6 separate regions of the Homo sapiens genome follow, and all the other regions are linked to region 1. The links are contacts of gene promoters, found by promoter capture Hi-C in blood cells and fetal thymus (Javierre and others, 2016). All regions are on one chromosome and are shown on one strand. The core of a region is centred on a gene start or on the middle of the fragment in contact, and the rest is flanking DNA. Distances in the headings are between cores, read along the strand shown.

Region 1 (2,830 bases), core at 1-2,500:
TTCTTGCCCTTGCTTCTCTGTGGAAATTGATGGAAACAGTTTCGCCTCCTACACAGGTATACTGTAGGTAAAATCAGAACAACACAAATCCTCCCATCCACTCCCAAGCCCCCCACCCCACTGAGGAAAACTGGTGGGGACTGGCTAGTCTCAGGCAGAAACAGAAGGAAACAGCTGCGACAGAGGCTCCCTCTTGGGAAAATAAAACACAGAGCTCTTTGTCCTTCTCAGATAGCAGCTCTGTATTTTACAGACGTTGGGAGGGAGACATTTTTCTCATTTCTCCCCTTTCTAGATTGCAGGGTAATCAGGATAATGGGTACAGGGTAATGGCAATTCTAATTCTGTTTTGTTGTTTTGTTTTGTTTTGTTTTGTTTTTGTTTTGATACAATGTCTTCCTGTGTTGTCCAGGCTGGAGGGCAGTGGCGCCATCACAGGCTCAGGCGATTTTTGCCTCAGCCTCCGGAGAAGCTGGAACCACAGGTGCGCGCCACCAGGCCCGGTTAATTTATTAATATTAGTATTATATTATTATTATTATTATTATTCATAGCGATAGGGTCTCCCTACATTGCCCAGGCTGGTCTCGAAATCCTGGGCTCAAGTAATCCTCCCACTTGGCCTTTCAAAGTGCTGAAGCTACAGGCATGAGCCACCACACCCGGCCTAATTCTGCTTTTTAACTCTTAGATTAAGAACAATAATTTACAGTGGTTAGTGAGTCAATGCCAAGAACCCTGAAACAAGAGTCCCAACCTTCGCAACGGGGGAAGCCTCCAGGACGCACTTGGCTCTGCCTGTTTGTTCCGCCCCCGCGGAAACCGCTGCTCGCTGGGCAGGGGCTTTCTGTTTTGCAGCCGGAACAGGAACACAGATAGCCCGCCAAGCCGCCGGCGACACCTTCCAACCCCTTTAGCTCTCCGCACCGTCCCTCCCCACCGCCCCGCCTCCACCCGCGCCGCGATCAAGTCCTCATAGCCTTTTAGGGAATTTGCTCAGCAAACTAGCCGAACCCCAAAGGCAGGGGAGAAGCACGCAAATACCCCGACTCCACCGGCTGGCCGGAGCTGGGGGGCGGGGGTTGCTCTCCTAGCTTGCTCCCCATCCGAGTCAACGCCAGTCCAGGGTCGTGCCGGACTAGACCCTAGGGCGTGGGTACAAACGGGAGCTCCGCAGTCCCCGTAGGAGCAGGGACCCTCTCTTACCTCTCAAGCTCCAGCGCGTCAAGCTCCAGGACACTCCGCGTTTCCCTGGAGGCGCCAAGGTCAGGTTCTTATAACCAATGGTTGGCGCCTACCTGGGCAGGTCCCACACAGGGGATGAACGAACCAATGGGTCCCAGGCAGGGCATGGACGCGCCAATGGGAGTGTCTACAAAGCCCGGGAACACTTTGCCACGCTGTCTAGAAGGCCTGGCGGGAGGCTCGCGCCTATGAAATCCCAGCACTTTGGGAGGCCTAAGCGGGTTCATCGCTTGAGCCAAGAAGTTCGAGACCAGCCTGGACAGCACAGTGGGACCCCCGTCTGTACAACAACAACAACAACAACAACAACAACAAAATTACTCAGGCTTAGTGGCGCGCGCCTGTAGACTCAAATGTAGTCTCAGATGCCCGGGAGGCTGAGGCTGGAGGATCACTTGAGCCCGAGGAAGTCCAGGGTAAAGTGAGTCGAGATCGCACCACTGCACTCCAGCTTGGGCGACAGAGTGAGAGCCTGTTCCCCCTACAAAAAAAAAAAAAAATGTCTGGAAACGCCAAGTTTTCTGATTGCTTTCGAGTGGTTCTTAGTTCTTTCTTACTCCCCCTCCGCCCCTCCTCCGTCCCTATCTCTCTCTCCTTTCCCGGAGCCTGCGGTCCCGCCTTCCCCGGACCCCTCCTCTGAGGGTCCAGCCAAGCTCTCGCCCGAGCTTTCCCCTTCCACCGCACTGCAACTGCCCATACCCCAGCTTGGGCTTCTCTCCCCACTGCCTGCCCCAGAAAGTGGGCCTTGAGACCCGGGAACCCCAGGTCAAAATGCGACGGATGCTCGGATCGGGCGGCACTCGGTTCCTGGCTGGATTTGTGGCTCCGCAGACCCCGCGCCAGAGTGGGATGTGGCGGCGGCCGGTGCTCTGTGCTCAGTCAACGCCTTGGAGAGGAGGACTACGAAACCCATACACTCGGACAGAACCCTGGCAGGTGTTAAAGGCTGCGGCAGAGCAGAAAAGCAGAACCCTGGCTGGTTTTCTTGTAACACGAGCAGTGTGACGGTTACCGGGGTTGACCAAGCACCGCGCATCGGCCAAGTTCTCACTGACGCGGACTGGCCCAAGGGTGGGAGCGGCGGTTAACACCGGGGTGATTAATATACGCTCCAGTGGAGGCTAAAGTGAGAAAATAAAACGTACTCCAATACCACCCCCCCTTCGCCCCAGAGATTACCACTGACCACTATTAACACCCTATTGTACATATCTTTACGGATCATACATATATATTACACAAACATATATGTAATACTTTTTTATTAATACAAAGTCACACTGTATGTACTCTTCTTAATCTGCTTTTTTCAATGACTTCCACCTTTCCATTTCAGTAAATCTTCATATAATCATATTCCAGTTTTTTCATTTTTCTTTAAAATGCGGTTTATAGATTGTGCAAACCTGTACTGAATCCAGAACTATACATCTGTAAAGCGCTGGAAAAAAAAAAAAGGCTGTCAATCTAGAATTCTATAACCACCAAAAACAAAACAAAACAAGTCCTCCAAAATGGAGGCAAAATAACGACGTATTCAGACCAAAAAAAAAAAAAAAATCTTAGGAAATTTGTCACCAGCAGA
Region 2 (4,805 bases), core at 108-2,607, 140 kb before region 1:
CAAACAGAGAGCCAAATCATATGAACTCCCATTCACAATCACTACAACAAGAATAAAATACCTAAGAATACAACTTACAAGGGATGTGAAGGACCTCTTCAATGAGAACTACAAACCACTGCTCAAGGAAATGAGAGGACACAAACAAATGGAAAAACATTCCATGCTCATGGATAGGAAGATTCAATATCATAAAAATAGCCATACTGCCCAAAGTAATTCATAGATTCAATGCTATCCCCATCAAGCTACCATTGACTTTCCTCATAGAATTAGAAAAAACTACTTTAAATTTCATATTGAACCAAAAGAGAGCCCATATAGCTAAGACAATCCTAAGCAAAAAGAACAAAGCTGGAGGCATCACACTACCTGACTTCAAACTACACTATAAAGGTACAGTAATGAAAACAGCATTGTACTGGTGACAAAACAGATATATAGACAAATGAAACAGAACAGATGCCTCAGAAATAACGTTACACATCTACATCCATCTGATCTTTGACCAACCTGATAAAACAAGCAATGGGGAAATGATTCCCTCTTTAATAACTGGTGTTGGGAAAACTGGCTAGCCATATGCAGAAACCTGAATCTGCACTCCTTCCTTACACCTTATGCAAAAATTAACTCAAGATGGATTAAAGACTTAAATATAAAACCTAAAACCATAAAAACCCTAGAAGAAAACCTAGGCAATACCATTCAGGACATAGGCATGGGCAAAGACTTCATGACTAAAACACCAAAAGCAATGGCAACAAAAGCGAAAATTGACAAATGAGATCTAATTAAACTAAAGAGCTTCTGCACAGCAAGAGAAATTATTGTCAGAGTAACAGGCAACCTACAGAATGGGAGAAAATTTTTGCAATCTATCCGTCTGACAAAGGGTTGATATACAGACTCTACAAGGAACTGAAACAAATGTACAAGAAAAAAAAACCCATCAAAAAATGGGCGAAAGATATGAACAGACACTTCTCAAAAGAAGACATTTATGTAGCCAACAAATGTATGAAAAAAAAGCTCAGCACTGGGCATTAGAGAAATGCAAATCAAAACCACAATGAGATACCATCTCATGCTGGTTAGAATGGCAATCATTAAAAAGCCAGGAAACAACAGATGCTGGAGAGGATGTGGAGAAATAGGAGCGCTTTTACACTGTTGGTGGGAGCATAAATTAGTTCAACCATTGTGGAGGACAGTGTGGCGATTCCTCAAGGATCTAGAACCAGAAATACCATTTGACCCAGCAATCCCATTACTGGGTATATACCCAAAGGATTATAAATCATTCTACTATAAAGACACATGCACTCGTATGTTTATTGCAGCATTATTCACAATAGCAAAGACCTGGAACCAACCCAAATGCCCATCAATGATAGATTGGATAAAGAAAATGTGGCACATATACACCATGGAATACTATGCAGCCATAAAAAATGAAGAGTTCATGTCCTTTGTAGGGACATGGATGAAGCTGGAAACCATCATTCTCAGCAAACTAACACAAGAACAGAAAACCAAACACCACATGTTCTCACTCATAGTGGAAGCTGAACAATGAAAACACATGGACACAGGGAGGGGAACATCACACACCAGGGCCTGTCAGGGGGTGGGGGCATAGGGGAGGGATAGCATTAGTAGAAGTACCTAATGTAGGTGATGGGTTGATGGGTGCAGCAAACCACCATGGCACATGTATACCTATGTAACAAAACTCCACATTCTGCACATGTATCCCAGAACTTAAAGTATAATAAAATAAATAAATATATAATAAATAAATAAATAAATAAAAAGCAAGACTCAATGATCTGTTGCCTATAAGAAACATGTTTCACCCATACAGATACACATAGGCCGAAAATAAAGGGATGGAAAAAGATATTCTATGCTAATGGAAACCAAAAAAGAGCAGGAGTAGCTATACTTGTGTCAGACAAAATAGATTACAAGACAAAACTTTTGGCCAGGTGCAGTGGCTCATGTTTATAATTCCAGAACTTTCAGAGGCCTAGATGGGCAGATTGCTTGAGCCCAGGAGTTTGAGACCAGCCTGGGCAACATGGCAAAACCTCATCTCTATTTAAAATAGAAAAACCACTCAGGTATGGTGGTGCATGCCTGTAGTCCCAGCTAGTCAGGAGGCTGAGGTGGGAGGATCACTTGAGCCTGAGAAACAGAGGTTTCAGTGAGCCAAGATCACACCGGTGCACTCCAGCCTGGGTGAAAGAGCAAGACCCTGTCTCAAAAAAAATTAACTTTTTGTTGTTTTTATTCATCTTATTGTACTGACTATGTCTTGAAAAGTTGGTTTTTACTATATTTGTTTATCATTTAATCTTTCTATTTAAGATAAGAGTAGTTTACACGGCACAGTTACAGTGCTATACTATTCTGTGTTTTTCTGTGTACTTTCTATTGCCAATGAGATTTGTACCTTCAGATTATTTTTTCTCATTCATTAATGTCTTTATTTCTGATTGAAGTACTGCCTTTCACATCTCTTGTAGGACTGGTCTGGCGTTTATGAAATCCCTGTTTCTGTATGTCTCGGAAAGTCTTATTTCTCCTTCATGTTTGAAGGATTTTTCACCTGATATACTATTCTAGGGTGGGTGTTTTTTTCCTTCAGCACTTTAAATATGTCATGCCAGCTCTCTCCTGGCCTGTAAGGTTGAAATGTCTGCTGCCACACTTATTGGGATTCCATTGCATATTATTTTTTTCTTTTCTTTTGCTGCTTTTGGGAGCTTTTCTTTAACCTTGAGCTTTGGAAATTTGATTATTACGTGCCTTGAAGTAGTCTTCTTTAGGTTAAATCTGCTTTGTGTTCTATAACCTTCTTGTAATTGGATATTGATTTCTTTCTCTGGGTTTGGGATGTTCTCTGTTATTATCCCTTTGAATAAACTTTTTACCCCTATCTCTTTCTCTAGCTCCTCTTTGTCCAATTTCCACTCTGTGCCTTTTAAGTGGAACATTTAGACCATTTACATTCAACGTTAATATTTATATGTGAGGTTTTTAATCCTGTTGTGATGTTGTTAGCTGGTTTCTTTGTAGTCCCGATTTGTGTAGTTGCTTTATAAGGTCTGTGAACTATGTATAATACTTAAGTGTGCTTTTGTGGTAGCAGGCATCATTCTTTCATTTCCATATTTAAAACTCTCTTAGGATATCTCGTAATGCTAGTCTAGTGGTAAAAAATAAGGTCCTTTAACAATTGCTTGCCTGGAAAATATTTTATTTCTTCTTTGTTTATGAAGCTTAGTTTGGGAAGACATCAAATTCCTGGTTGGACTTCCTTTTATTTGAGAATACTGAAAATAAGTACTCAATCTCTTCTCATTTGTAAGGTTTCTGCTGAGAAGTCCATTGTTAGCCTAATGGGGTTCCCTTGTAAGTGATCTGACATTTTTCTCTAGGTGTCGTTTAACATTTTTTCTTTAGTATTGACTTTGGATACTCTGGTGACTATGTGCCTTGGTGACATTTGTCTTGTATAGTATCTTGCAGGTGTTCTCCAGGTTTATTGTGTTTGGATGTCTACCTCTCTAACAAGATTAGGAAAACATTTTTGAATTATTCCTTCAAATAAGTTTTCCAGCTGTTTACTTTTTCTTCTTCTCTCAGGAATTCCAATCTTTTGTAGATTTGGTTGCTTAACATAATCCTATGTTTCTAAAAAATTTTACTCATTTTTAAACAATTCTTTATTTCTGTGTGACTGAGTTAGTTAGAAATATTGGTCTTCATGCTCTGAAATTCTTCCTTGTGCTTGATCTAGTCTGTTGATAGAGATTTCAATAGTATTTTGAAATTCTGTAAGTGAGTTTTTCAATTTCTGAAGATCTGATAAGTTTTAAAAAGATGCTTATCTCTTCCTTCATTTTCTGGATTGCTTTAGTAGTTTCCTTGCGTCGATTTTCAGCCTTGTCTTGGATCTCGTTGAGCTGCCTTGCAATCCATGCTTTGAATTCTCTGTCATTTCTGAGCTTCCTTTTTTGTTAGGGTCCATTGGTGGAGAGCTAGTGTAATCTTTTGGTGGTGTCACAACATTCAGATTTTTCATGGTGCTGGAATTCTTACACTGTTTCCTTCTTATCTGGAGAGGCTAGCACTTCTAATTTTTGTAATTAATTTAATGTGGAAAGAATTTTTTTTCTTTGCCTTTCTCCCCCACCCCATCTCTAGCAGGGTATAGCTACAGAGTATGTTGAGTAGGGCCTTCTGGCTTTGCTTCTGTAACCCTATGCACTTCTGTTGGCAGGTTTTACACTGGGCTGTGATATTTGATCTACAGGCCAGTAGATGGCGCTTAAGGGTAATTGTCAGCTGCGGCACAAGCAGAGGAGTATGTAACTGATCTTTGTTTACTGTGAAGTTCTCTCTATTGTCTCAGGAGGTGGGCTGGGCAGTGGAGAGCCCCCTACCCTAAGCTTTCCTGTTCTTGGAGGGTAGCTGGAGCCCCTAGCTTGCCTAAGAAGGCCCCAGTAGTGAGTGCAGGCACCAGCCCTGATGACAGTGGGTGGGTGGCTCCCGGTGAAATGCGCTGAGGTGTCTTTGGGGTGAGGAGGTTAGGGGGCTGTACTGGCTCCCCATCCTACATAGGCAGGAACATGATCTGTTTGCCTATCACACCCCTGTTCTGGGCGGGGTTGGTGACTCCTAGTTCAGACACACATAGCCAATCTCTGGACCCCTACGTGGTTGAGAGCCACAGGAAACTGTTTTGTGAGTCTCCGTGGGAGTGGTTTGGGGGCAAAACTTTGTAACTCAGCCCA
Region 3 (4,498 bases), core at 281-2,780, 190 kb before region 1:
GAAATCATCCTGCGAGCAGTATGTGCTCTGCTGAATTCTGGTGGGGGCATAATCAAGGCTGAGATTGAGAACAAAGGCTACAATTATGAACGTCATGGAGTAGGATTGGATGTGCCTCCAATTTTCAGAAGCCATTTAGATAAGATGCAGAAGGAAAACCACTTTTTGATTTTTGTGAAATCATGGAACACAGAGGCTGGTGTGCCACTTGCTACCTTATGCTCCAATTTGTACCACAGAGAGAGAACATCCACCGATGTCATGGATTCTCAGGAAGCTCTGGCATTCCTCAAATGCAGGACTCAGACTCCAACGAATATTAATGTTTCCAATTCATTAGGTCCACAGGCAGCTCAGGGTAGTGTACAATATGAAGGTAACATAAATGTGTCAGCTGCTGCTTTATTTGATAGAAAGCGGCTTCAGTATCTGGAAAAACTCAACCTTCCTGAGTCCACACATGTTGAATTTGTAATGTTCTCGACAGACGTGTCACACTGTGTTAAAGACAGACTTCCGAAGTGTGTTTCTGCATTTGCAAATACTGAAGGAGGATATGTATTTTTTGGTGTGCATGATGAGACTTGTCAAGTGATTGGATGTGAAAAAGAGAAAATAGACCTTACGAGCTTGAGGGCTTCTATTGATGGCTGTATTAAGAAGCTACCTGTCCATCATTTCTGCACACAGAGGCCTGAGATAAAATATGTCCTTAACTTCCTTGAAGTGCATGATAAGGGGGCCCTCCGTGGATATGTCTGTGCAATCAAGGTGGAGAAATTCTGCTGTGCGGTGTTTGCCAAAGTGCCTAGTTCCTGGCAGGTGAAGGACAACCGTGTGAGACAATTGCCCACAAGAGAATGGACTGCTTGGATGATGGAAGCTGACCCAGGTTAGGGAGCAATATCCACAATGGTTGTAATGTTTGCTGGCAGCAAGGCAGGGCGGGTCAGAGAGGAAAGAGGGATATGGTATTCCTTGGAATCTGGGGAAAGAGATTTACTCTCTGATTTGCAATTGTCTGACTTATTAATCCCTGTAGATGTAGTTCGTGGATTATTGCCCTTCCTTTCTTCTGCCATCTTAAATAGTCTTCATTCAACAGATGCCCTGGCTAGTAGCCCCATTAAAGGCTGGTGCAGGGGGCTGTTTGACCTAGTTATTTCAATTTTCACATCCTTTCTTATGTTCATAGTCAAGCCTCTTATTTTTCAATTATGAGCTTGCATTTAATTATTTAGGAAATTTCTTTTTTTCACATGTACAGATGTGTCCACTTTAATTTACTGCCACTTTCCTCTGACTTTCCCTTCTTAAATATTCACCCTTTCTCACTGCCCACTTCCATTTTTTGAACCAAAATATGACCAAATCACGGCTTTCGCTCTGCTTTCCCATTTTTCCTTTGGGGAGCCGGTACGTGATAAGCCAGAGGATGGTTGGTGACATGCATCTATCCTGGAAAAGGAAAGCCTGAGATAAAATTAGACAGAGAAAACCAATAGTAACTTCTTCAAAGGTCCAGAAAAAACAAAGTCCACCTCAGAATCTGCTCAGGTGTCTATATCCATTGGCCTTTGCATCTTCTCATCATTTTTCTTTAAAAAGTAGCATTCTAAAAATATAAAAACAGTCTGGGCACGGTGGCTCATGCCTGTAACTCCAGCACTTTGGGAGGCCGAGGGGGGCAGATCACCTGAGGTCAGGAGTTTGAGACCAGCCTGGCCAACATGGTGAAACTCCGTCTCTACCAAAAATACAAAAAATTAGCTGGATGTGGTGACGCACGCCTGTAATCCCAGCTGCTCAGGAGGATTGCTTGAACCTGAGAGACGGAGGTTGCAGTGAGGTGAGATCATGCCACTGCACTCCAGCCTGGGCAACAGAGTGAGACTGTTTCAATAAATAAATAAATAAATAATAGAAATAAAAATAGTTTTGTTTTGACATAATAAAATTAAAAAGTGTTGCTTTATGCTAGGTTATTTTTTCCTTCAAAAACCTCAGTAGGCTTTCCTGAGCTGACCTGAGATGTAAAGGCAAGTATCTGTGGGCCGTGGCTTGAGTTGTAAGACTAGGTGAAAGACTTTGTAGCACAGCTCAGCTATAAGTTGGGGTCTGCCTTTTTGCATATTGAATCCTTGGTTCTTGTTTCCTAAGACCTTTCCAGGTGTCCTGAGATGGTTCTCCAGTTGAGTTTGTCATCTGCCACGCCCCGCAGCAAGCCTGTGTGCATTCATAAGAATTCGGAATGTCTGAAAGAGCAGCAGAAACGCTACTTTCCAGGTAATTGGCCATCTCTGGTTGCTTTGGAATATGTTGATTGTTCATTCATATAAAAAATTGACTCCTACTTTATATTATATACAGAATCAATTCCAGAGGTTTAAGGACTTAAATATGAAAGCCAAACCTTTAAAACTTTTAGTAGAAAGTGTATATGAATAATTGTATCATTGGGGTAGGAAAGCATTTCCTAAACCAGACACAAAAGGATCAAACTTAAAAAGACTGATAAATTTTACTACATTAAAATTAAGAACTGTTCCTCAAAATATACCTTAAAGAAAGTGAAAAGACTGGGCACAGTGGCTCATACCTGTAATCCCAGCACTTTGGGAGGGTGAGGTGTGGAATTGCTTAAGTCCAGGAATTTGAGACCAGCCTGGGCAACATAGCAAGACCCCATCTCTACAAAGTAGCAGCACTCTACTATGCCAGGCTAATTTTTTAACTTTTGTAGAGATGGAGTCTCCCTGTGTTGCCCAGGTTGGTTTCAAGCTCCTGGACTCAAGCGATCCTTCCACCTGAGCTTCCCAAAGTGCTGGGATTACAGGCATGAGCCACCACGCCAAGCCACCAGTCTTTTTTTTTTTTTTTTTGAGATGAAGTTTCGCTCTTGTTGCCCAGGCTGGAGTGCAACGGTGAAACTTTGGCTCATTGCAACCTTCACCTCCCGGGTTCAAGCAGTTCTTCTGCCTCAGCCTCTCAGGTAGCTGGAATTAGAGGCGCATGCCACCACACCCAGCTAATTTTTTTTGCATTTTCAGTAGAGACAGGGTTTCACCATGTTGGCCAGGCTGGTCTTAAACTTCTGACGTCAGGTAATACACCCACCTCGGCCTCCCAAAGTGCTGGGATTACAGGCATGAGCCACTGCGCCCAGCCCAATCATTTTTTTGATGGACTTTTATATGACGTCTAATTTTTTCATTTTTAAACAATGCTATAATATACATTTTACCATAATATACCTGAGGTGTTCTTTAAGGATAAATTCCAAGTAGTGGCCAGGCACAGTGGCTCAGGCCTGTAATCCCAGAGCTTTGGGAGGCCAATGCAGGCGGATCACAAGGTCAAGAGATCGAGACCATCCTGGCTAACACAGTGAAACCCTGTCTCTACTAAAAATACAAAAAATTAGCTGGGTGTGGTGGCATGCGCCTGTGGTCCCAGCTCCTCGGGAGGCTGAGACAGGAGAATCGCTTGAACCCTGGAGGCGGAGGTTGCAGTGAGCCAAGATGGCACCACTGCACTCCAGCCTGGGCGACAGAGGGAGACTCCATCTCAAAAAAAAAAAAAAAAGAAAAGGAAAAGAAAAAAAAATTCCAAGTAGTAATAATTACTTGTAACTTTAGATGGATATTGCCAGATTGTAAGCTAAAACATATACCCAAATACACTTTGACCAACCAACATGGTATTATCACGGCATTTCTCTTCTGGAAGAAGCTTAGAATCATTTTATCCTATCAAAAAGAAAAAAAGATGGCCGGGTGAGGTGGCTCACACCTGTAATCCTGGCACTTTAGGAGACCGAGGTGGGAGGATCACTTGAGCCCAGGAGTTCAAGACCAGCCTAGGCAACATGGTGAAACTCTGTCTCTACAAAGAAATACAAAAATTAGCTGCATGTGGTGGCATGCACTTGTAGTCCCAGCTACCTAGAAAGCTGAGGTGGGAGAATCACCTGAGCTCAGGAAGTAGAGGCTGCAGTGAGCCATGATCATACCATTGTACCCCAGTTTAGGTGACAGAGCAAGACCCCGTCCCCCCCAAAAAAAAGTCTCCATGCTGTCCCTTTTTAGTCAAACTCTCCCCAAATCCCTAACCTCTAGCATCCATTGATCTGTTGCCTGTACCTATAGTTGTGCTTTACAGAATGTCAGGTAAGTGAAACCATACAGTACGTAATCTTGCCAGGTGTTAAGATGGCACTCTAATGCCTTCCTCACCATCCTTGTTTCCACCTCTTTGCCTCGCACTTTGGATGTCAGCAACACAAACTGCTTGGAGTGACCTGAATGGACCTTGCTTTTTATTTATTTATTTTTTTTTGAGACAGGATCTCACTCTGTTGTGCAGGCTGGAGTGCAGTGGTGTGACCTCAGCTGGCTGCAACCTCCGCCTCCTGGGTTTAAGCGATTCTCGTGCCTCAGCCCCCCGAGTGGGTGGGATTACAGGCACGCACCACCATGCCCGGCTAAGTTTTGTATTT
Region 4 (4,305 bases), core at 498-2,997, 170 kb before region 1:
CTCTGCTAGATTTGGCCAACTGATTTTGGCTTGCTGATGCCTTGACTCAATGTTGGTCTACAGTTAATGAGTTTGAGATTCCCTGACTTACGTGGCATTTGGTAGAAACTTGCTGCTCAAAATGTGTCATGTGGAGTTGCTGTAGCAGCATCACTGGGAGCTATTTAAAAATGTAGAATCTCGGGCCCCATCCTAGACCTTCTGAATCAGAATTTTAGCAATATTTCCATGTGCTTCATATGCACATTATATGTTACAGTTTGAGAGGCATTGTTCTAGAAGGAGCTCAAAGACTCAGGGATGTGAGAATATTGAAATGGAGCTACTATGTGCAACACGCTTCGACACTACCCCCCTAGCCAGAATCCCCGAGCAAGCCCAGGGGATGCACCTATCACCAAGGAATTAAGACATGCATTGGAGAGGAAGGTACTAGCAGTGCTGGAGTGAGGGGGGAGGCAAGAAGACACCCAGGATACAACATTTAACCGGGCACCCACCCTCCGGTACTGATCCTGAATGCATGAGCCTGAAAGTGAATGCCTCCTTTAATATCTTGTGCCAGGGTGCTTCACTAGCCGTGGGCACTGGTAACCTTGTGAAGCTTTTTGGTGGCTGTTCTCTATAGGCCAGAAATGACAGTGGGGTATGCAGCACTGGAACTGGCTTCCCTTATCTAAACGGAAGTAGTGGAATCCTGCAGTGGTAGAAGCCAGGTTGCAGTCGTTATTGAACAGCCGAGACAAGATGGACATATTATCCCAATAAACCGTAGGATTGGAGTGGTAATCTGAGTGTTTTGACCAGGAGGGATCCATAGTGATGATCATGGCATCCTTACAAATTAAATAGATGGGCAGTCTACTAAAATGTGGCTTGACATACATAGGCAGAAAAATCCCAGATATACTGGGCATAACCCTATCTTTAGTTGTCATGGTGGGGAATCAAAACCCCTTATCCAGTTTCCAAATATAAACTAATCCAAAATCCTACAACTCTTTGGGAAAGAGACCTTTGAGAAAAATCCTGTTACATGGCTGCAGACACATTCTATGACTCTTCCCTCAGTCCTTCATCAGAGGGACCTGCAGACATTTAATAGGGTGACTCTGTACTGGGGAAATGGAACTATCGAGGGATTCCTAGATTCTGGCTCTGAATGATTCTGGCTCTGATTCTGGCAGAGACTGAAGTGCCACATTGGTCCAGCAGGCAGAGGGAGGGCCCAAGGAGCCAGATAATCACTGGTCCTTTGGTTATTTCTCGAGTCTGGACAACGTATAGTAGACATAGGATTGGAAACTGCCAGAATTCCCACATCAGTTTCCAGATCCAAAAAGTGAGAGTTATTATGTTAGGAAGGGCCAAGTAGAAGCCCCTAGAATTGTACTCTTCACCCACATCAAAATAGCAATCTTGGCCGGGCGTGGTGTCTCATGTAACCCTAACATTTTGAGAGGCTGAGGTGGGCAGATTGTCTGAGCTCAGGAGTTTGCGACTAGCCTGGGCAATGTGGCAATAATCCCATCTCTACTAAAACACACAAAAACTTAGACGGGCATGGTGGTGCATGCCTGTAGTCTATTGCTTGAACCTGGGAGGCAGAGGCTGCAGTAAGCCGAGATGGCACCACTGTACTCCAGCCAGGGAAACAGAGCCAGACTCTGTTTCAAAAAAAATAGCAATCACACATTCCTGAGGGGAGTTTCAGAGATTAATCCTACCGTCAACAACCTAATAGGTGCGGAAGTAGTGATTCCTATCACATCCTCACTTGACCCATCTCTTTGACTGGTGAAAAAGCAGATGGACATGGAGAACGCCAGTGATTTTCACAAACAGGCTGTGATGCCAATATCACCTGCTCTTCTGGGTTGCAGTATCTTTACTGGAGCAAGTTAATACAGTCCCTGGCACCTGGTTTGCAGCTATTGCTGGCTTCTCTGCTCCCCCACACAATTTCTACAAGACAAGGAAATGAGAAGCAGTTTGATCTAAGTGGTGGGGCAAGAGGATAGTTTGCCATCTTGCTTCATGACTACCTCAATTCAAATGCATGCTGTCATGATGTAATCAGGACAACTCTTGATTATTTTGCTATCCCATAGGGATGACATAATGCTAATTGGACCTGATGAGGAAGTATATCAAGTGTGCCTTGGATACATGCCTGCCAGAGGGTAGGTGACAAACTTCACAGGTTCCAGAGCCTGTCACATCAGTGGTGTTTCTGGAGTTTGGTACCTTGGGACAGGTTGAAACAACATCTCTAAAAGAAAGAATAACCTACGAAGCTCCATGCTTGCTTGGTTTATCTGGATTTTGGACAGGCTAATCCATTTTCTGCCAAGCAGTAAGACTGCTAGAGAAGGAAAGTTCTCTCTAGCAGGTCCAAGTTGTGGTGTACATGTCCCACTATTTGCACACAATGACCCAGCAGACCTAATGATAGTGGGAGACTCTGCAGAAGTCAGAGATCTACCAAAATCCCCAATAACAGAATCCCTAGAGTTTTGGAGGAAGGCTATGCCCTCTTCTGCCAACAAGTACTGTCCATATGAAATCAGTATCTCACTTCCCGTGGGACCCTGTTGAGACTGAATATCTGACAAATATCTGTGTGACCTGAGCTCTTATCAAATCCAAAGGGGTCATCTCTTCCACTAAATCATACACAGCAGAATTCATCATAAAATGGAACTCATATATGTAAGACTGGGGCCTCATAGGTCTGCAAGAAATTAATAAGCTGTAACAGCAGGTGGCTCAGACTTGCATAGGATCAATGTCCACTGCTTCACTGCCTTTCTCTCCACTTACAGCAATGACCTCTTGGGGCACATGACCAGCTAAAGGAGGACAAAAAGGTGTGGGCTTGGTTTGCAAATGAAGCTTCATGATCCATAGGTCTCAACAAGAGTGGATGGCTTTTACTCTCCAGCTCCACTCAGGGATAACACTGCAAGACAATGATGAAGGGAAGTCATCTAAGTGGGTATACACGTTTGTGTATTTTGGGTGAAATGATAGCCATCACCACGGACTTAGAAACCACAGGAGAATGAAAGTTTAAGTAACCCCACCCAGTAAAGAATCCCATCCAACTGAGGTGGGCAGGCAGAACTTAGAGAGGGTTGTGGGAGAAGGCTGCTATAACTACCAACCGAGGCCTTGTGACTAGCTTCAGAAGTAGGTACAAATACAGATAGGTTTTATTTTACCAAAAGAAAAACTTTAGACAAGTTAAGTTTAGCAGAGTTTACTTGAGCAAAGAACAATTCATGAATTAGGCAGCATCCAGAACCAGGAGACGTCCAGAGAGCACTCCCTAGCAACATGGGCAGGCAGTATTTATAGAAAGAAAAGGGTAGTGACATACAGAAACAGCTTGATTGGTTGCAGCTTGGCATTTACCTTCTGTGGACATGGTCTGATCACTTGGCAGCCTGTGATTGGCTGAAGTTTGGCTGCTGTGTATGGGATTGGATGGGACTTGGCTATTCGTTACAAGACTATACTCTTAAGTTATGTTGCAGTTTGTTTACTTACTACATTAGGTTACAGTTTGCTATGTATGGAGGCAGCTTTAGGCCAAATTTAGTTTAATATAAAATTGCTAATTATTGATGTTTCTTTCTCCTCTTTCCCCTGTGGCCTTATAAAAAGAAGATTGGCCATGGCTAACATTTTTGGTTTCAAACGAACATTTGACTGAATTGATACCATGGTAGCTTAACACACTTTATTGTGTTGGGGACATTAACTCTTCACCCAGAGGAATGATAAGATTGGGGTAGGAGGGGAATGGGGGAGTTGGCATGCTGGACATCCTCCATTTATTCCTTTGGCATCTATTCTCCATCCTTCTCCAGCCTGCTCTGGGCTGCAAGAGGCTGCCTGGATAATATCGGTAGGGCTCCCTTGCCATCTGAATTTTGGTTGCTTGGTCAATGGGGACAATGGCTGAAGATGAGAGGGAGGGAGGAGAGTGAGGTGAGACTATTTTTTTTCTTCTGGTTCTCCTCTTGCGAGTAATGCACGCTGGCTGTGTCCCACAACTAAAGTTCCTATGATGCAGCCTCTTGACAGGTCTTTTGATCTCCTGGTTCCAGTAACAACTTCTTCCCCTCAACAGAGCTGCCTGCCCCTCATCAATAGCCCCAAACTATACATTATCTCCTGTGGCCTCCCTCTTCTCTGTCCACACCTTTGTAAATAGTCCCTTTTGAACTCGTCTCTAATTATGCCTTTGAATGTACCTTGTGTTTGTTAAAGGAAAACTAGACGAATTAAATTTAACAG
Region 5 (4,734 bases), core at 1,039-3,538, 220 kb before region 1:
TCACTTATCCCGTTGAATCTCTCACATTCATGAGTCAGCTAATTACTTCTTCATGGTGCCATTTAACTTCTTCTATGCCTGTGTTTCATCTAAACTGGAAAATTAGACCCAAGGACTGACTACATGTAGGTTCAATTATGTGTGTAAGGGGTTGAGGGGTAAGAGAGAAGCCTTTTGCTAGAACACCTCCTAGGTAGGGCTGTGTATTAGACATTGTGCTAATTTACACAGTGTCTGGCTGTCCCACTCATACCAACGTTAGAATCGGTGTGTAGGTTGAAGTGTTTTCAGTTTGATCCATCTGTTCTAAACTTCCCCATGCACCCTTCTTCAGTCTGATCTGTCTGTTATAAACTTCCCCATGCATCTTTCATCTAGTGAGTGATCCTCAATCTTGGCTGCACACTGGAATCACCTGGGGAGCATTACAATCGCCCCAGACGTTCTGATTCACTTGGTCTGGAGTGCAGCCTACACACTGAGGCTTGTAACAGCTCTTGGGGGCAGGTGAGGTTGAAAACCACCATCCTGGTAGTTTCAGCATCAGTTGACGATTGTTACCTAGATCCATGATTTCATTAGGTCTTGCAAAATGATGATTTTTCTAACTCCATAATTCCATCTGAATTTATTACCGGGAATATTTCTGTGAAGGACTTTCCTTACCATCTCTTTCTTGGCCCCAAAATAGAATGCATACAGGAAAGGAGTACAAAGGCTTGATTGCTTCCCTTCATCAGTTTTCAAAACAATGCGCTGATGTCCTAGCGTGAATTTATGAAGGTTAACCATGAAGTTTTTAAAAACAAGTATCATTGTGAACTCATGGGTTTTAATATATGAAAGTCAATTTGAAATTATAGAGGAAATGGGTAACTCCCATTTCCAGTTGAATATGCCAGTTGAAAACTAAAAATTTTTATTATAGAATCAAGATTATAATTTGAGACTCACATGAAGATAGAAATGATCTTTACATTTGTATTCTTCAAAACAAATAATTATTAAAATGAAATTCAAACCATAAAGACCAGATTTAGTCTCATGTCAGTTAAGCATCTTGCGCCTCCATGACACTTGGGGAAATTTTGTTACCAGTGGAGCTACTGAGTACCCTGTGGGTGTGTGAAGCAAGGGCCTTGCCACCAGCTGGTTAGCTCAGGGTCTAAGGGACACTCGTTCTTGGGCAGCGTGGAGTTCCATACCAATTAGGGTGCTGTGTGCCTTGTCACTTCCACATACAGGGGATGAAATGAGCACTTAATTCCTGGGTGGGTTTCTTCATCCCCAATTAATGGGAACTTTTCAGGCAACTGTTTAAGGTTCAATTACACTGAATGAAGGACGGGGCGGAATGAAGTTAATGTTTATTGAGCACATACTATATGCCAGGTATTTCGTATATACCATGACATATACTCCTCAAAGGAGCCCTAGAAGGCTTAATATTTTAATTTTTGTTTTACAGACAAATTCATACTGAAAGTTATAAATTTATTTCCTGCATTACTTTACAAAACTTACATTGAATTTTAACCCTTTTCTCAACTCATAATTATAATTCCTTTCTACTTATTACTTGGTGAGCCATGTGATTATTTCTCTAACTGAAAAGCTTGATTCTTAATATTGCTAGTGGAAGTACTTATCAGTGAATACAAAATTAGTAAAAAATTGATAAAGTTGATATTAACCATAAAACATTTGGATGACAAATATAAGTAGCAAATATCATGTTTTATAATCCATTTTAACATAAGACTATTCTGCTTCTTTCTTATATTATTTTTTGAAATTTTGAAGTTATTTGAAGTTCTGAGTAGGCCTTTATTTGAAAGACTACTTTTTGTTTCTCTTTGAGTGCTAATTATTGAAATTCCAGTATTTAGCCTGGAAACTCTAAACTCTTCTACTTCTGGTGAAAGAAAACTCAGCAAGACAAGCAAGCAAGCAAGCAAGAAACAACAGACAGTTTCCTTTTTCTTGCACCTGCAGAGAATGAGATGCTTTTCCATGTCACCAAACTGTATTTGCCATTAGCTCCTATCAAATTAGTTTGATACGACACTCAGATTTATGAGTTATTGTATTTTGGGAAAGTAACTTCCAAAAAAGTCGAATTTTGCTTGGTTGTTTATGTAATGATTTTTTTGCTCAGGTAATAATATTTAAATTGACATAGCCTCCTTTTTAAAATAAAGGTATAAATATTTGTGTATTTCTTTCTATTTCTTTCTTTCTTTTTTTTTTTGAGATGGAGTCTCGCTCTGTTGCCCAGGCTGGAGTGCAGTGGTGTGATCTCGGCTCACTGCAACTTCTGCCTCCGGGATTCAAGCAATTCTCCTTGCCTCAGCCTCCCGAGTAGCTGGGATTACAGGTGCCCACCACCACGGCTGGCTAATTTTTGTATTTTTTAGTAGAGATGAGGTTTCACCATGTTGGTCAGGCTGGTCTTGAACTCTTGACCTCAGGTGATCCGCCCACCTCAGCCTCCCAAAGTGCTGAGATTATAGGCGTGAGCCACTGTGCCCGGCCATGCATTTATTAACCCAGAAGATGACAGTTGATATTTCCCATTTGTTAATATGCATGGAAATAAAACCTACAAATGTGAGAACATGAAATAAATGATTCAAGAAAACTGAGAAGGACGATATTAGGGTTTAAACTGTGCTCTCCCAAAAGATATGTTGAATCCTAACACTTAGTACCCCAGAATGTGACCTTACTTAGAAATAGGGTCACTGTAGGCCGGGCGCGTAGCTCACGCCTGTAATCCCAGCACTTTGGGAGGCCGAGGAAGGCAGATCACGAGGTCGGGAGATCGAGACCATCATGGCTAACACGGTGAAACCCTGTCTCTACGAAAAATACAAAAAATTAGCCGGGCGTGGTGGCAGGCACCTGTAGTCCCAGCTACTTGGGAGGCTGAGGCAGGAGAATGGCGTGAACCTGGGAGGCAAAGCTTGCAGTGAGCCTAGATCACGCCACTGCACTCCAGCCTGGGTGACAGAGCAAGACTCCATCTCAAAAAAAAAAAAAAAGGAAAATAAAAGAAACAGGGTTACTGTAGAAGTAATTAGTTAAGATGAGGTCACATTGGAGTAGAGTAAGCTCTTAATCCAATATGACTCATGTCTTTATAAGAAGGGAGATGGTGTGAAGAGAGACACACACAGGGAGAAGGCCACATAGTGATGGTGGCAGAGATCGGAGTGACACAGCTGCAAGCCAAGGAACATGGAGGATTGATGGCCACCACTGGGCAGAGGTAAGAGAGGATTCTACTGAGAGTCTCAGGGAGAAGAGCCCTACTGACAACTTGATTTCAGACTTCTAGCTTCCAGAACAAAGAAAATAAATTTCTGCTGTTTTAGGCCACCGATTTTATGGTATGTTGTTATGGTAGGCTTAGGAAATGAATACAGGTGGTAACTCCAATTGAAGCCTAAATCTGAATAAGTAAAAATAGCGATGCTGGGGTGGGGAGGTAGGAGGGTTACCTGTCACTGCTGTCTAGTGCTGGCCAGCTTTGAACTCTGTTGCTAAATAATTAGTTTTGCTTAAAATCAGGGTCACTGGAAAATTAAAACATTGATTTTTGTTTTTGTCTGTTGTCTTATGGCTTTTGACAGATGTCACTTTGTCCTGGGTCCATAGGATAGGTGGAAGCTGCTCTCACTTAATTTTTTTTTCTTTTTTTTTGAGACAGGGTCTCACTCTGTCACCCAGGCTGGAGTACAGTGGCAGAATCTCGGCTCCCTACAACCTCCGCCTCTCAGGTTCAAGTGATTCTGTCACCTCGGCCTCCCAAGTAGCTGGGACCACAGGTGCACACTACTATGCCTGGCTAAATTTTTGTGGAGACAGGGTTTTGCCATGTTGCCCAGGCTGGTCTTGAACTCTTGGCCTCAAGCAATCTGCCTGCCTCGACCTCCAAAGTACTGGGATTACAGGTGTGAGCCGCTGTGCCCAGACCCTGCTCTCACTTAAATTAGAGATAGAACTATTGCAATTCTGTCTTCTGAAATAAAGCTTTCTAAGCTTGAGAGTGGATCAAGTTAGATTTTTATTGTGGTAAGAGATGAGCAAACTTTCTTTCTTTGTAAGGCTTGAGCCTGTTAAAGTACAATAGAAATTAGAATGTGAAGATTCTTAAACCGGCCCCAAAAGAGGCTTCAACCTTTTTGATTGAAACAATGTATGTCTAGAGTCTATGTGTTCCTGGAGGATTCATATGAACATATGAAGGGTGACAAGGGAAAGAAGCACCTTTCAAATTAGATGAGATAATACACCTTCAGATGTAATAGAAAGTAAAGCCCATATAGTTCCTTAAACTGTATAGATCTCCTATTTTCAGTAGCTTCAAGAGGCTATCAAGTACATAATAATCTAACATAAGAAAGCTCAAAACCCTCCCAGAAAAAAAGGAAGGAAATCTAGCCAAAATTTTATTTTCTTCTTATTATTTTTTGAGATGGGGTCTTACTCTGTCACCCAGGCTGGAGTGCAGTGGCATGATCACAGCTCACTGCAGTCTCGACCTCCCAGGCTCAAGCGATCCTCCCACTTCAGCCTCCTGAGTAGCTGAGACTACAAGTGCCCCACCAAGGCCAGCTAATTTTTGTATTTTTAATAGATATGAGGTTTTGCCATGTCTGGTGCCATGGCTGGTCTCAAAATCCTTAGCTCAAATGATCTGCCCGCTTCAGTCTCCCAAAGTGCTGCTGG
Region 6 (4,859 bases), core at 1,386-3,885, 240 kb before region 1:
GGGCTGAAGTGATCCTCCCATCTTGTGCTCCCAAAGTGCTGGGATTACAGGCATGAGCCACTGTGCTCATCCATGAGCTGATTGTTGAAAAGATCCTGGCCCCTCCTGCCCCTCTCTCTTGCTTCCACTCTCTCACCATGTAATCTGCACATTCTGGCTCCCCTTCATCTTCCACCATGTGTGGAAGCTTCCTGAGGCCCTTACCAGAAGCTTGTACAGCCTGCAGAAACATAAGCCAAATAAACCTCATTGCTTTATAAATTACCTGGGCTCAGGTATTTTGTTGAGCAACACAAACAGACTAAAACAGTAGAAATCCTTGTCTTGTTGCAGATCTTACACGAAGGGCCTTGAGTGTAATGTTAGCTGTGGGCTTCTCATAAATGACTTTTATTGTGCTGAGTTACATTTCTTTTTAAAAAATTTGCACTCAGGGTTATCCTCAAAGAGATATATGCTTTCTACATCTAATTTGGTGAACTTTTTTTTTGTCATCTTTCTCTCTCTCTCTTGCTCTCTCTTGCTCTGACTCTCTGCCTAGGGAATGGAAGATAAGAGAGAGTTTTTATCATAAAAGGATATTAAATTTTATTGAATGATTTTTGGCATCTAATAAATGATTATATGGTTTTTGTCTTTCATTCTGTTACTGTGGCATGTCACATTTATTGATCCTTGCATTCCAGTGATAAAAACATTTCTCAAAAGAAGACATGCAAATAGCCAACAGATAATGAAAAAATGCTCAGCATCACTAATCATTAGAGAAATGCAAATTAAAACCACAATGAGATATAATCTTTCACCTGTCAGAATGCTTATTATTATGTTTTTAATCATCCTGTACTTTATTTCAAAACAGAGTGTTTTCAAATGAAAAAACAAAAGATAAGTGTTGGTGAGGATGTAGAGCAAAGGAAACATTTGTACACTGTTGGTGGAAATGTAAATCGGTGCAGCCATTATGGAAAACAGTATGGAGATCCCTCCGCCCAAAAAATAAAAAAAAACCAAACTAAAAATAGAATTATCATATGATTTAGAAGTCCCTCTTCAGGGTATTAATGCAAAAGACTCAAAATCAGTTTGTTGAAGGGATATCTGCACTCCTATGTTCATTGCAATACTATGCACAACATCCAAGTAATGGAATCAACCTCTGCCCATCAACAGACAAATGGATTTTAAAAAAATGTAGTGCATATATACAATGGAATACTATTCAGCCTTTAAAAAGAAGGAAATTCTGGCTGGGTACAATGGCTCACACCTGTAAGTCCAACACTTTTGGTGGGTGGAGCACTTGAGGTCAGGAGTTTGAGACCAGCCTGAACAACACGGTGAAACCCTGTCTCTACTAAAAATACAAAAATTAGCTGGGTGTGGTGGCATATGCCTGCAATCCCAGCTACTTGGGAGGCTGAGGCAGGGGAATGGCTTGAACCTGGGAGGCAGAGGTTTCGGTGAACAGAGATCACGCCACTGCACTCCAGCCCGGGTGACGGAGTGAGTGAGACTCCATCTCAAAAGAGAGAGAGAGAGAGAGAAGGAAATTCTGAAATTTGTGACAGCATTGATGGAATTGAAGAACATTATGCTAAGTGAAATAAGTCAGGCCCAGAAAGACAAATACCACATGTTCTCCGTTATATGTGGAATTTAAAACAATGAACTTATAGAAGTGGAGAGTAGAATGGTGGTGACAGAAGCTGGAAGATGGGGAAATGGGGAGGTGATGGTCAAAGGGTATTTCAGACAGGCAGAACATGATTTTTCTTTTTGTGCATTCTATTGCACAGCATGGTGAATATAGTTAATAGTAGAGTGTTGTACGTTTCAAAATTGCTAAGTAAATTTCAAATGTTCTTGCCACAAAAAAAGTTAAGTATTTGAGGTGATGGAAATGTTAACTAGTTTGATTTAATTATTTCACATTGCATTCATAAATCGTAACATCATTTTGTACCCCATAAATTTTTTCCCCACGCAACTCCCTCTTCACAGAACCCATCAATCTATACAATTATAAATTGTCAATTTACAATAAAAAAAGAAGAAAAAAAGAAAAGCATAAAATTGAAAACTTAGAAATAAAACTTTTTAATTGTTCACATGACAGGATTGTACATGTAAAAAATCTGACAGCTACAAACTATTAGAACCAATAAGTGAATTTAGATACAAAGTCCATTTACAAAAATCAATTGTGTTTCTACATACCTATAACAGTTAGGAAGTTGAGTTTTTAAAGATGGTGCCATTATAATATCATAAAACATCAATGCCTAGAGATAAATTGTGAAAGATGTTTAAGAATCCTAACTATAAAATATTATTTACAAAAATAAAAGAAAACTCATATAAATAGAGAGATATTACCAAATTCCTGGATTGGATGACAACATTATAAAGCTATAAATTCTCCCCAAAGTGATATATAGATTCCATGAAAGCCCAATACAACTTTGAGGCTTTTGGTGGGACAGAGATTGATAAATTATTTGTAAAATATTTATGAAAAGCCAAAGAGTCAAGAATAGCAATGACCATCTTGGAGGAGAATAAAGTTTGGCCAGGCATGGTGGCTCACGCTTGTAATCCCAACACTTTGGGAGGCTGAGGCAGGAGGTATTGCCTGAGGCCAGGAGTTCGAGACCAGCCTGAGAAACGTAGTGAATCTCCATTTCCACAATTTTTTTTTAATTAAAAAGAAAAGAAAACAAGAATAAGTTGGAAGACTAACAGTGAGTATCAATATAAGGTCATAGTTATTAAGATGGTGTGATGTCAGCAAAAGAATAGGAAAATAGACCAATGAAACAGAAGAGAGAATTCAGAAATAGACCGACACATATAGGTACACTTGACTTATGACGAAGATCACACTACAGAACAGAGGGGAAGGGGTGCACTTTTCAACAAATGATATTGGGTCAACTAGCTATCCATATGGAAAAAAATTAAACTTAACCCCTCCCCCACAACACACTCAAACATCAGGTGGATTAGAGATCTAAATGTGAAAAGTAAAACCAGAAATATTCTTATGACATAGGGCTAGAGAGTTTAAAAAAATAAAAAGGAAATATTCTAGAAGATAACACTAGAGACTATCTTCATGAGTTGGAGTAGGCAGGTATTTCTTAAATGAGACATAGAAACACTAACCATAAACAAAAATGTTGATAAATTGGACAACTTTATTAAATAGGAGCTTCAATTCATGAGAAGACACTATTAAGACTTCAATTCATGAGAAGACACTATTAAGACAGTAATAAAGTCAGCCACAGAGTGGAAAAAGATTGCTAAACATTTAATCAATAAAGAACTTGTCCTAGCCTGGTCAACAAATTGAGACTCCATCTCTACAAAAAATAAAAAAATTAGCCAGGCACGGTGGCATGTGCCTGTGTTTCCCAGCTACACAGGAGGCTGAGGCAGGAAAATTGCTTGATTTCAGGAGGTTGAGACTGCAGTGAGCCAGATTTGCACCACTGTGCTCCAGCCTGGGCAACAAAGGGAGATCCTGTCTCAAAAAAAAAAAAAAAAGAAAAGAAAAGCAAACTACTTGTACAGACAGACACCTTATAAAAGGAGCCAATAAATATATGAAACTCAGTCATCTTACTAGTCATCAGGGAAATGCAAAATAAAATTATAATGAGATGTCACCATAGACCTATCAGAATGGCTAATATTAAAACCACACTGCATCCATCAACTGATGAGTGGATAAAGAAAATGTGCTGTGTATATACACGCACACACATACACACACAAATACACACCATGGAATACTATGCAGCCATAAAAAGAGGAAAATAATGTATTTTGCAGCAACTTGCATAGAACCAGAGGTCATTATCCTAAGCGAAGTAACTCAGGAACAGAAAATCAAATACTGCATGTTCTTACTTGTAAGTGGGAGCTAAGCTATGGGTACGCAAAGGTATGTAGATTGGTATAATGGACACTGAAGCCTCAGAAGGTGGGAAAGTTGAGAGGGGAATGTGGAATTTAAAAATCACCTACTGAGTACAATGTACACTATTCAGGTGATGGTCGCACTAAAAGCCCAGACATTATTATCATATAATTCATCCATGTAGCCAAAAACCACTTGTACCCCTATCGAATTTTTTTTTAAAGCAAATTAAGCCAGGTGTGGTGGCTCATGCCAGTAATCCCAGCAGTTTGGGAGGCCAAGGCAGGAGGATTGCTTGAGGCCAGTAGTTTGAGACCAGGCTGGGCAACATGGCAAGACCCCCGTCTCTACAAAGAGTACTTTAAAAATGTTAGCTGGGTGTGGTGGCACATGTCTGTAGTCCCAGCTACTTGGGAGTTGGGGGCTGAGGTGGGAGGATTGCTTGAGTCCTAGAGGTCGAGGCTGTAGTTAGTGAGCCATGATGGTGACACTGCACTCCAGCCTGGGTGACAGAGGAAGACCCTGTCTGAAAAAATAAGCAAATTAAAAAAAAATTAAAACACTGACAAAACCAAGTGTTGGTGAGAATATGGGATAACTGGAACTCTTATACACTGCAGATGGGAATGTGTGAATTGCTACGAAAACTTAGGAAGATGTATTTGGCAGTATCCCCTAAAAGTGCTTGACATAAAATTGAACATATACATAGCCAGCAACTCCAAGGTACACAGCCAACAGAAATATGTACTTGTGTTTGTGTGTCGCAATGAGAAAGAACACTTTTCATTGTGACTCCCAAATGGAAATAACCCCAATGTCCATCGTAAATGGAAAAATTGTCTGATACGTATACAGGAGAAGACGATACACCAGCGTAAATGCCACATTACTGCTAAGTACAACAATACGGATGTGACTTACAAATACA

What was found. The method cuts DNA at HindIII sites, captures the fragments that hold promoters and counts their contacts. A CHiCAGO score of 5 or more calls a contact.
Region 2: a fragment that was not itself captured here is called in contact with the fragment with the promoter of SLFN13 in region 1 in 9 of 17 cell types (total CD4 T cells, activated CD4 T cells, total CD8 T cells and 6 more); the score reaches 7.9 in total CD4 T cells.
Region 3: a fragment that was not itself captured here is called in contact with the fragment with the promoter of SLFN13 in region 1 in 5 of 17 cell types (total CD8 T cells, total CD4 T cells, activated CD4 T cells and 2 more); the score reaches 10.3 in total CD8 T cells.
Region 4: a contact is called between a fragment that was not itself captured here and the fragment with the promoter of SLFN13 in region 1, in 5 of 17 cell types (non-activated CD4 T cells, naive CD8 T cells, naive CD4 T cells and 2 more). The highest score is 8.3, in non-activated CD4 T cells.
Region 5: a fragment that was not itself captured here is called in contact with the fragment with the promoter of SLFN13 in region 1 in 3 of 17 cell types (naive CD8 T cells, total CD8 T cells and activated CD4 T cells); the score reaches 6.9 in naive CD8 T cells.
Region 6: a fragment that was not itself captured here is called in contact with the fragment with the promoter of SLFN13 in region 1 in 5 of 17 cell types (non-activated CD4 T cells, activated CD4 T cells, naive CD4 T cells and 2 more); the score reaches 5.7 in non-activated CD4 T cells.

The regions. Positions count from the first base shown.
Region 1 is chr17:35,447,516-35,450,345 of GRCh38, forward strand. It overlaps SLFN13 (schlafen family member 13), which reads right to left and starts at 1,251. Exons shown (of 6, transcript NM_144682.6): 1 at 1,207-1,251. RefSeq lists enhancers at 527-686, 1,565-2,066, 1,957-2,166, 2,067-2,566 and a silencer at 1,257-1,336. The HindIII fragment of the contact is 16,320 bases long and covers 1-2,830 here.
Region 2 is chr17:35,308,555-35,313,359 of GRCh38, forward strand. No RefSeq gene overlaps it. Among named protein-coding and RNA genes, the nearest start is that of SLFN11, 63 kb to the right of the region's middle. RefSeq lists an enhancer at 3,133-3,634. The HindIII fragment of the contact is 3,855 bases long and covers 1-3,285 here.
Region 3 is chr17:35,258,811-35,263,308 of GRCh38, forward strand. SLFN5 (schlafen family member 5) reads left to right here. Exons shown (of 5, transcript NM_144975.4): 2 at 1-892; 3 at 2,161-2,286. Among named protein-coding and RNA genes, the nearest start is that of SLFN5, 18 kb to the left of the region's middle. The HindIII fragment of the contact is 4,399 bases long and covers 1-3,730 here.
Region 4 is chr17:35,281,875-35,286,179 of GRCh38, forward strand. No RefSeq gene overlaps it. Among named protein-coding and RNA genes, the nearest start is that of SLFN5, 41 kb to the left of the region's middle. The HindIII fragment of the contact is 2,291 bases long and covers 603-2,893 here.
Region 5 is chr17:35,224,597-35,229,330 of GRCh38, forward strand. No RefSeq gene overlaps it. Among named protein-coding and RNA genes, the nearest start is that of SLFN5, 16 kb to the right of the region's middle. The HindIII fragment of the contact is 1,350 bases long and covers 1,614-2,963 here.
Region 6 is chr17:35,205,924-35,210,782 of GRCh38, forward strand. No RefSeq gene overlaps it. Among named protein-coding and RNA genes, the nearest start is that of SLC35G3, 14 kb to the left of the region's middle. The HindIII fragment of the contact is 4,854 bases long and covers 209-4,859 here.